3 separate regions of the Homo sapiens genome follow, and regions 2 and 3 are each linked to region 1. The links are contacts of gene promoters, found by promoter capture Hi-C in human tissues and cell types (Jung and others, 2019). All regions are on one chromosome and are shown on one strand. The core of a region is centred on a gene start or on the middle of the fragment in contact, and the rest is flanking DNA. Distances in the headings are between cores, read along the strand shown.

Region 1 (3,528 bases), core at 435-2,934:
GCCATCGGAAGGCTTCTGGTCGCTCTCAGGGAGGAGCCCCTCTCGTATGGGAATCGAGGTGTTCAATGCCCACGATGCGGAGACCGCCTGGCCCGAGTGGGCCAGTGATCTCAGCTTACAGTCCAGCTCCTTCCTCCCCATGGCTAAGAGGTCAGCACCAGCTCAGGCAAGTGGCGAGGGTGGGATGAGGATGACAGACGGGGTGGAGGCAGGTGGCTGCGAGGGGACAGTGTCAGGACCTCCTAGGAGATCAGGTGTGCTGCAGGGAACAGGGAGAGCCTAGGAGGGGACAGGAAAGTGAGGAGGGGGAGTGGAGAGGACTCCCTGGGCAAGAGACACGAGGGCCAGCACTCAGGCCTCCACAGCCATCCACTGCATGAGCCAAGCCCAGGGACAAAGCTCTGTGACCAGGATGCCCCCAGCAGCCTGACCCTAAGAGTTGAGAACTGTGCCCTGTGAGCAATGTGACCTGAGGGTCCCGGAGTCCTGCGGGGGCTGTGCTGTGTGAGGGCCACCTGTCCTTTAGGTGGGGTACTAAGGGGTTGTGTCCTCTATGGGCTGTGTCGTGGGGGGGCTGTGTGTCCTCTGGGGGGCTATGTGTCCTGGGAAGGTCCCTGTGTCCTGGGAAGGTCTCTGTGACCTGGCGGTCTGTGTGTCCTGGGGGGGCTGTGTGTCTTAGGGGGACCTCTGTGTCTTCTGGGGGAATATGTGCCCTGGAAAGGACTCTGTGTACTGGGGGAGGCTGTGTGTCTTAGGGGGGCTGTGTCCTGGGGGGGTTTCTGTGTCCCGGGGGGGCTGTGTGTCCTGGGAGTGCTGTGTCCTGGGGGACCTCTGTGTCCTGGGGGCACTGTGTGTCCTGGGGGGACCTCTGTGTCCTGGAGACTGCGTGTCTTGGGGGTCCTCTGTGTCCTGGGGGGTCTCTGTCCTGGGGACTGTGTGTCTTGGGCACCCTCTGCGTCCTGCAGGAGCTGCGTGTCCTGGGGGGGCTGAGTGACTTGGGGGCCCTCTGTGTCCTGGGGGTCTCTGTCTCCTGAAGGGGGACCCTAGTATTGTGGCGCTTCTGGGCTTGCCTCTCATGAGGGATGATGCACCGGGCCTCAGTTTTGGGTCAGCCTCCTTTACCGGCTCTCCCCCCTTCCTCCGACCGTCAGGTATCCGTGCCAAGCCCTCAACGGGCCATCCTCCTTCCCGCGGCGACCCCGCGCATGACAAGGCCAGACCCTCCCGCGAACGTGCTCTGCGCTCCCGCCTGGCCCCTCCCCGCCCCGCCCCTCCCCCTCCTCCCCGCCCCGCCTCGCTCCGCCCCTCCCCGCCTCCGCCCCGCCCCGCCCGCCCTGCCTCTCCCCGCCTTTCCTCGCCTCGCCCCGCCCCGCCCCGCCCCCTCCTCCCCGCCCCGCCTCGCTCCGCCTCTCCCCGCCTCATCCCGCCCCGCCCGCCCTGCCTCTCCCCGCCTCATCCCGCCCCGCCCGCCCTGCCTCTCCCCGCCTTTCCTCGCCTCGCCTCGCCTCGCCCCGCCCCGCCCCTCCCCGCCCTGCCTCGCCTCGTCTCGCCTCGCTTCGGTTAGATGCGCTCGGCGCTCCATAGGCTCCCTGGTGGGGCGCGGGCGCGCGCACGGACGTCCAGCACGCACGCACGCACGTCCAGCACACACGCACATCCAGCACGCACGCACGTACGTCCGGCACTTCCGGCCGCGGCGGCCTCAGCGCCGGCCCGAAGGGACCAGGCCGCCGTCCCCAGCGAGAGGCATGCAGCGCTGAGGAGCGGCGACCCAGCACGGCGGCGCCATGAACCTCCTGCCGTGTAACCCTCACGGCAACGGGCTGCTCTACGCCGGCTTCAACCAGGACCACGGTGAGGAGGCGCGGCCCTGTCGCCTTGCCCGGCCGGGCCTTCCCGCAGCCCGGGGTCCCCGGCTCTCAGGCCTCTCCTGGGCGCCCCTTTCCGGCCAGGCCTTCCACCCGGGACCCCGGCCCCGCCCGAGCTCCCCTCCGAAGCCCCCGGCCCCGGCCCTCGCCGCTGCTCCCAGCCCGAGCCGGGGTCCGGACCAGGCCCGAACCGGCTCCCACCTTCCTGGCCTTTCGCGCTCCCCCACCCCCCGGGTTGTGACCGCTCCCAGCCGGCCGTCCCGGGCCGAGGTCGAGGTCGGTGGGAGACGGCACAGAACCCCAGCCTCCTGCGCGGACGCCCCTCCCCGCGCGCCACGCCCACTCGGGTTCCCTGGCTCCCTGCGGGCTCCACGGTTATCGGGATTTTCCCCACAGCGTGATTGACGCCCTGCCCAGAACCCCGTTTTGCCCCCTGTTCCTTTCAGGGTCTTTAGTAGGTAGCCCGTGGCTGAGCTGACTTCGCTTGGGTTTACTGGAGCCGCGGAGCCGGCGTCTCCGACGCCTCTGGTGGCGAGTGGCGCGGGTGGGGTGCAGGTCTCACCTTTCCCGTCGGTTTCCATCGGAAAATGTCACTCTCCCCACCCCCACTCCCCGGGATTTTTCTTCGTGTTTGGTGGAGTCAAAGGACTTAAGGGAGGCCTTTGAGGGAAATCTTACTTCTTTTCCCATGTCGGAATCCAGGTGTAAGCACTGGATGATTTAAAGCGCCCAGGGAAGGTGACCTCCTTCCCCGCAGGTGCTTCGGAGCTGCGGGGGATGCGGCCGGGGCGGCGCGGTCGGATTCCCGCGGGAGGCGGGCGGGACCTGGATTCGGATGGTTGCCTCCTCACCTCCCATTTGAAGGGCGCGCTTCCCAAAGGTCCTGATGGGGAGGAAAAGGAATGTCCGTTATTCCGAGACAGGCTTCTGCGAGGCTTTACATGTTGGCTTTGGAAGTTTTGTTTTTGAAGAGAATCCAGGCAGGTGCTGTATGATCCCGTATATGTGAAGACAATTTTATTTATTTATTTATTTCATTTTGAGACGGAGTCTCATTCTGTCGCCCAGCCTGGTGCGATCTCGACTCACTGCAACCTCCTCCTCCCGGGTTCACGCCATTCTCCTGCCTCAGGCTCCTGAGTAGCTGGGATTACAGGCGCCTGCCTCCACGCCCGGCTACTTTTTGTATTTTTAGTAGAGACGGGGTTTCACCATGTTGGCCAGGCTGGTCTCAATCTGACCTCAGGTGATCCACCCGCCTCGGCCTCCCAAAGTGCTGGGATTACAGGCGTGAGCCACTGCGCCCGGCCGGATTACACATATTTGAAAGAACTCCCTCTCAGTGATTTTGATGCCTGATGCCCTGGGACCAGTCAGGCTTCCTGGGCGCTGCCAGCTTCCCCAGGGTTGTGTGCTGGGGTTTCTCCGGAAGAAAGTTTTGCTGAGATGGTAAGGGAGATGCCTAGCCTTCTCAGAGGGTGGTTTCCAACCATCTGGTGTTTGTAATGCCTTCTTTTTAGTGAAGTGTGCTATACCTGTAGAAGGGTGGATATATCATAAGTGTTCAGGTGATGAATTTTCCAAACTACACACCTGTCACTAACAATTAAGAAATTGAATATACCTGGCCACGCTTGATTCCAATAAATGCTCCCTACCT
Region 2 (3,528 bases), core at 559-3,058, 440 kb after region 1:
AGGCTGCAGTGAGCTGAGATCACGCCGCTGAACTACAGCCTGGGCAACAGAGCGAGACCCTGTCTCCCGAGCTCAAAGGATCCTCCCTTTGGCCTCCCAAGGTGCTGGGTTCACAGGTGTGAGCACTGTGCCCGGCCCACACATGGGTTCCCATAGATCCCACTTTACAGGCAGGGACACTGAGGCATGCAGAGCCGGGATACAGACCAAGCAAGTCCTGGCTCCTCTTCTGGGTGTCCCAGCCCGTCTCGGACACCCACGCTTACCCAGGCCTGGTGGCTGCATCGTGGACATGGGGGCAAGGCAGCTCTCTGGGTGGGCAGAGGCAGGAGCTGAGGCAAGGATGTGGGCATCCTTTTGGGTACATCTAGTCCTAGAGCTGATCCAGGGGCCAGTCAAATGTGCAGCCAAAGTCGGGTCAACCCCAGCACTGTCCTGTGGGTGGGGGTAGCAGGGAGCCAACAGTCCAGGCCCTACATCCTGTTCTAATAGAGTGACAAGTCTGATGAGGCTGGGGGTGCACAAGCACTGAGAAGGCAGCAGGACAGGGAGCCAAACACATGGGGTGGTGGGGGAAACCAGGGAGCTGGACACAGGGTGGGGGGGTCCTGGGAGTTGGACACATGGGCCAGGTTGGGGGTCCAGGGAGCTAGACACAGGGGGTGGGGAGGGGAGTCCAGGGGACTAGACACAGAGTGGGGGGTGGGTCCAGGGGGCTAGACACACAGTGTGGGGGGTGGGTCCAGGGAGCCGGACATACACATGGGGTGGGGAGGGGGCATCCAGGGAACCAAGTCTAGGCAGAGGCAACTGGCGCAAAGGACCTGAGGCAGAAGAGGGTTTGGTGTGTGAGGCGGGACTGAGGACTGTGGGCGAGGGAGACAGCTCTACCAGGACGCATGGTTCGGGGAGGACAGGCTGCAGGGTGCCTGGGCTGCAGGCACGGCACGGAGAGGAGTGATCCAGTGTTAACAATGTGGGTGGAGGATGACACCAGACCCCTGGCTTATTGCCCCACCAGGGGAATTCCCAGACACCAAACACCCCCTCCACTCCCACGCAGAATTGCGGGCTGAGGGTTCGGGTGAGCCAGGCTGCTCTGTCCCGGGGCCGGGCTCTGTTCATCCATCCGCAGATGGATACGGACACGTGCCTTTTTCTGAGGATGTGAATGGTTGGGAATGGCTGTGCCTGAGGATGTTGTTCCCACAGGATGGTGGGGGCGACTTCGGGCCTCGGTGGGTCCCGACCCCCCTCCTTCCCCCAGTTCCCTAATCAGGGTCTGAGCGACCGCGCGCACGGCCCCTGGGCCCCGCCGGTCTCCGAGCCCGTGGGCAGCGCCGGGAACTCGTGCCCCGGTGGCCGCAGCCGACCCTTAGGCAGGACTTCGTGGCGCCCCCGGCCCGAACAGACCCCCACGGGCAGCCTCGGCCGCCCCGTGCTCCCTTCATCTCAGGGCAAAAGCTCAAGTCAACCCTTCGGGACCGCGAGCCGGGCGGCCTCAGGAAGCGGGCGCCTGGGGACCCTCGGCCGGGCCGGGGGCGGCGAAGGTGGGGGCGCCTCGCGCGGCGGAACCCGCCGTCCCCATAGCCCGGAGCCCCGTCCGGAGTCGCCCCGCTGACCGGTGAGGAGGCCGGGCTCCCTCCTTCGATCTGCGGCGGTGGTCGGGTCGGCCGGGGCGCCCCTCGGACCCGGGCGCAGCGCGGAACCCGGCGGGGCGGGAGGGGCCGGAACCTAGCGCCAGGGACCCCGTTTCCTGTCGGCGGGACCCGAGCGCTGCACCGAGCGCAGCCGGACGCGGCCGACTGACCCGGTCGCTGTGGCAACGCGGCGGGACCTGGCCAGCGCTGCTGGCGGGCGTTAGGGTGAGGTGCGGGCGGGCGGCGTGGGAGGCGTGGGAGGCGTGGGGGGCGCCGCTCCGACCACTCTTCCTGTAGAAAACCCCAGCAGCTGCCGTCCTGTCGGACGCAGCGCTTTGGTGGGGACCTGGAGCGCGAGGTCGACCCTCAGAGCTCGGCCAGGCCCGGACCGGGGATCCCCTCGCGGAGGCTGCGGCGGGGCGGGGCGGGGGTTGCGGCCGCGTGGAGCGGGAGCGTTCCCTCGGTCTCCCGTGGGTGACCTGGGGCGGTGGGCGCTGCCGACCAGGGCCCCGCAGCCCCGGGAGAATTCCCCGGGTTCCGCCGCCGGCAAGGACGGCTCCGCGCCCAGGCAGCCTTACAGTGTCTGTGAGTTTAAAAAAAAAAAAAAAAAAAGAGAGGAAAAAAAAAGGCCGGAGGCGGTGGTTCGCGCCTGTAATCCAGCACTTTGGGAGGCAGAGGCGGGCAGATTGCTTGAGGCCCGGAGTTCGAGACCAGCCTGGCCAACATGGTGAAACCCCCTCTCTACTAAAAATACAAAAATTATTGGGCGTGGTGGTGCACGCCTGTAATCCCAGCTACTCCGGAGGCTGAAGCAGGAGAATCGCTTGAACCCGATGTTGTAACTGAGGGAGTTATAGAGAGAACGCCACACTCTGAGACTACTCAGGAGTCCTGTATTGCCAGCGACTGACAGACTGCTAGAGCTGCAAATTCCCTCGGCCCCGAAGAAGGGGCTAGATTTCTTTTGATACCTTGGTCTAAATAGAGGAGGGGAGGCTAGCTGAAGCGATTTTTTTACAGAAGCAGAATAGGCAAAAAGTTAAAAGATAAATGGTTACAGAAACAGTTACAGGAAAATAAACAGTTCCAGGTACAGGGGCTTAAATTATCACAAAGTGATAAACGCAGGGGCTTTGGGTACCATCAACCGAGCGCGTTCCCAGGAGCTGCTGGTACAGCTTGCTCCAGTTTCTTATCAGTATTTTATCAGTAAGCGCATTCCTGGATGTGCTTGGAGTCAGCTTGCCCCAGTTATGTCCTTAAGGGACGGGGACAAGGGGCTGCAAGCGAAGAAACCAAAATGGTGTCTGTCCGGCCCTCTCAGCTAAGAGAGAGTCAGTCAGGTTAAAACAAAGTAGGGTACCACACCGAGAGGCGCAGGTTGCGGAGAGCCAAGATCGCGCCATTGCACTCCAGTCTGGGAGACAAGAGCGAAACTCGGTCTCAAAAAAAAAAAAAATTATCTGTAACTTAGAAAAAGGATACAAAAGGAGCACAGATTTCCCGTGTGCCTTTTGCCCAGAGCCCCTAGAATGCTGACCTCTTAGAGAACCACAGTTCATTCAGCAACATGTAGACGCTGGCGTTCATGTTGGTATCATCCCATGATCTGGTCTCCAGTATTTATTCTTGCTTAGCAGCTACCTCATGGATGACTTTACCGTGGTCCAGGATCCAATGATGAGTCCACTATTTTATAAAATGCCCCCCAGTTCGGGGGCATTTCTCTGATGTTTTGTCATAATTGATTTCATATTACTGATTTTTGGCAAGAAAACCTCAACAGGGAAATTGTGCCCTTCCCAGCGTCTTACGAGACACAGGATGCCCCTGGCTGTTGGTGCTAGTCACGTCCTGGGGGCTGAGGTGGTGTCTGCCAAGTGTGTCC
Region 3 (3,528 bases), core at 770-3,269, 310 kb after region 1:
AGGCACGGCCATGACGCTTAAGTCAGACGGAAAGCAGCAGCTCTGTGGCCGGAGGACTGAGAAGGGTCTGCAGATGCCGGCGAGATGCCAGCCCCAGTGCCAGCCGGTGTCCAGGTTCTTGACACCATCATGAGGAAGAATTCGGGATGAGTAGGAATGAGACAAAAGGCAAGAAGCTTTTATTGTGAAGTGAATGCCTGCGCACAGGAGAGGCACGGGCGTGCTCCGAGAGTGAGTCACACACAACGAGGCCTGAGTTTCTATTTTATGGGCTTTCCTAGTTAGAGGGTGGAATAATCATTAGATTTTCTAGGAAAAAGGTGACGATTTCTTAGAATTGGGGTGCCAGATATTTTTATACTAAATATGGGCATGGTTGGATCTGCCGTGACGCTGGTGTGTACGTGATTGTGAATGGCAGTCAGTGTGCAATTAGGTCTGGGGTGGGCACAGGTCAAGCCTAGTGCCACGGTGGATCCGGCCAGCCTCCTCCAACGTAGCCTCTCCTGCTTGTGGGGTCGAGGGTCTCATCAGTCCGGGCTCATCCCTGCCTTTGTGGCTCATTCTAACAGCTGCTTTCCGTGGCTCATTCTAACAGCTGCTTTCCATGGCTCATTCTAACAGCTGCTTTCCGTGGCTCATTCTAACAGTTGCTTTCTGTGGCTCATTCTAACAGCTGCTTTCTTGCTTTTCTGCAAGATTACTGTTTGATATTTCTCATTTCTCCTATGACCACCCAGCATTCCTATCTCATTGGCTAGGAAGGATTACTATTAAAAGTATTTTCTCTTTCTCTCTTTCTCTCTCTCTCTCTCTCTCTTTGAGGCAGGGTCTCGCTCTGTTGCTCAGGCTACAGTGCAGTGGCCTGATCTCGGTTCAATGCAGCCTCGACCTCCCAGGCTCAAGAGATCCTCCTACCTCAGCCTCCCAAGTAGCTGGGGCTACAGGCACTGGCCACCACGCCCGGCTCATTATTTTATTTTTGTGAAGATGGGTCTCACTGTGTTGTCCAAGCTGGTCTCAAATTCCTGGCCTCAAGAGATTGTCTCACTTCAGCCTCCCAGAGTGCTAGGATTACAGGCATGAGCCATCGCACCCAGCCCTAAAAATGCCATTCTTTCTAAAATTAAGCTATAACAGCTGGGCACGGTGGCTCACGCCTGTAATCCCAGCACTTTGGGAGGCCAAGGTGGGTAGATTATGAGGTCAGGAGTTAGAGACCAGCCTGGCCAACACGGCAAAACCCCGTCTCTACTAAAAATACAAAAATTAGCCAGGTGCACGCCTCTAATCTCAGCTACTAGGGAGATTGAGGCAGGAGAATTACTTGAACCCGGGTGGTGGAGGTTGCGTGAGGTGAGATCGTGCCATTGCACTCCAGCCTGGGCAACATAGTGAGACTCCATCCCCCCCAAATAAATAAATAAATAGAATTAAAATAAAGTGAAGCTATAAAGACAGTGAAATCCCAAAAGAAATACCAAGAAGATTGGCAAGTGAAGGGGCTCAGGGCAACATAACTGGATGTTCGAGGAGCACAGCCTTTTCAGGTGGAAAATAACAAGCTGGGTTGTGGATTCCACCAAAAGCAGAAACACATGCTGGGTAAGAATTTAAAATTAGCCTCATATTTTAAAACTTCCGAATATTATAAAATAGATAAATTAGAATTAGGTTAGCACAAGACAAGAACAAGAGCAACAAAACGACAAAGACTGAAGCAAACATTTTAGACTTTTTATCTGTGGTGCCTGCCTGTGGTGCCAGCTACTCAGAAAGCTGAGGCTGGAGGATCGCTTGAGCCCAGAAGGTCAGGGTACATTGAGCTACGATCCTGCCAGTGAACAGCCACTGCAAGCCAGCCTGGTCAACTACAGGAGACCCCATCTCTTAAAAAAAAAAAGCCTCCAAATATATGATTAAAAATTCCTAGAACCACAAGAAGAGGCTGCTAAGCCCCCACCATAGGAGGCCATTCCAACCTATCTCTCTTAATTACTGATAGCTCAAGCCCATACAAATTGACAAGTATATAAAAATACAAAAAATTAGCTGGGCGTGGTGGCGGGCGCCTGTAGTCCCAGCTGCTGGGGAGGCTGAGGCAGGAGAATGGCGTGAACCCGAGAGGCGGAGCTTGCAGTGAGCTGAGATCGTGCCACTGCACTCCAGCCTGGGCGACAGAGCGAGACTCCGTCTTAAAAAAAAAAAATTGACAAGTATATAAAAGACCTAACCTACCCCACTGACACCTTGACAGGAGGGACACCTGCAGAGACCCTTGCTCCCAACAGTCAGAGAATATTACATGTTGGAAGGACCCGTGAGACCCTTCCAGCCAGTGAGCAGTGGGTACAACTGAGTCATGCACAAATCTGTGGGGCCGGTTGGCTCGGCTCCCAGGAGGCTGCGAGTCTGTCCACGGGCCGAGGGCTTTGGGGGGCGGCCCCCAGGTGGCCGGGGGTGCGCGGGCAGAGTGAGCAGGACAGTGGGAGGGTCAGAGGCCCTTTCATAAAAGTGCGCAGAGCAGAGGAGCGATCCCCCTAGCTCCCCCACAGAGGGTGCTGCACCTGCGGCCCCTGCGGAGGTACTGGCTTGGCCAGCCCGGGAGGAGGGGCCCAGCCTGTTGGGACAGGAGATGGGGTGCAGGTGGAAGGCTCCAAGAGGCATCTGGGCTGGTAACGCGCAGACATCCCAGGTGGGTTGGAAGTGGGTCAAGGAGGCCTGGAGGACCCGGTGCCTGTGGGGGTGGCAGGCGGGCCACATCCTCCACTAGAACCCGAGGTGGCGGCGGGGTCAAGGATGACGAGTTATCTTCGGGACATTAGGAGGAAGCCCCACAGGCTGCAGTCACGTGGGTGGGCAAGGATGAAAGGCAAGGGAACCCAGAGAATCAAGTTACAAAGAAAAGCAAATGCCGCCAGCACAGTGGCTCACGCCTGTAATCCCAGCACTTTGGGAGGCCGAGGCGGGTGGATTGCCTGAGCTCAGGAGTTCAAGAAAAAAAAAGCCTGGCTAACATAGTGAAACCCGTCTCTACCAAAAATAAAATAAATAAATAAATAAAAGCTGGGCGTGGCGGCACGTGCCTGTAGTTCCAGCTACTCAGGAGGCTGAGGTAGGAGAATCGCTTGAACTAGGGAGGCGGAGGTTGCAGTGAGCCGAAATCGCACCACTGCACTCCAGCCTGGGCGACAGAGCAAGACTCTGTCTCCAAAAAAAAGAAAAGCAAATGCTCCAGGACCTTGGGGATTTTAAGAATATGCTGCCGAATAATTTGGAGAGTTAAACAGAAAATCATAACTGAAATCTACAAATTCCTCGAACAGAAAGGAAATGAAACTCCACATGTCACCTGGCACAGCAGAGGCTGTGATTCAAGGACAGGCTGAGGGTGAATGAATCCACACATCCGCTCTAAGATGCCTGATCCCAGCATTGTATAGAAATGGAAAGATACGGCCGGGTGCAGTGGCTCACGCCTGTAATCCAGCACTTTGGGAGGCCAAGATGGGCGGATCACAAGGTCAG

The links. The method cuts DNA at HindIII sites, captures the fragments that hold promoters and counts their contacts. A contact is called where the count stands out against the background at its distance.
Region 2: the fragment with the promoter of CCDC57 here is called in contact with the fragment with the promoter of WDR45B in region 1 in 1 of the 25 tissues and cell types used here (mesenchymal stem cells).
Region 3: a contact is called between a fragment that was not itself captured here and the fragment with the promoter of WDR45B in region 1, in 1 of the 25 tissues and cell types used here (dorsolateral prefrontal cortex).

Annotation. Positions count from the first base shown.
Region 1 is chr17:82,646,600-82,650,127 of GRCh38, reverse strand. It overlaps WDR45B (WD repeat domain 45B), which reads left to right and starts at 1,684. Exons shown (of 10, transcript NM_019613.4): 1 at 1,684-1,854. The coding sequence starts at 1,788. RefSeq lists enhancers at 1,092-1,161, 1,540-2,039 and silencers at 1,452-1,521, 2,122-2,171, 2,182-2,231. The HindIII fragment of the contact is 22,392 bases long and covers 1-3,528 here.
Region 2 is chr17:82,211,122-82,214,649 of GRCh38, reverse strand. It overlaps CCDC57 (coiled-coil domain containing 57), which reads left to right and starts at 1,808. Exons shown (of 19, transcript NM_001394669.1): 1 at 1,808-1,865. RefSeq lists an enhancer at 455-1,397 and a silencer at 1,348-2,267. The HindIII fragment of the contact is 18,649 bases long and covers 1-3,528 here.
Region 3 is chr17:82,335,972-82,339,499 of GRCh38, reverse strand. No RefSeq gene overlaps it. Among named protein-coding and RNA genes, the nearest start is that of SECTM1, 4.0 kb to the right of the region's middle. The HindIII fragment of the contact is 4,127 bases long and covers 1-3,528 here.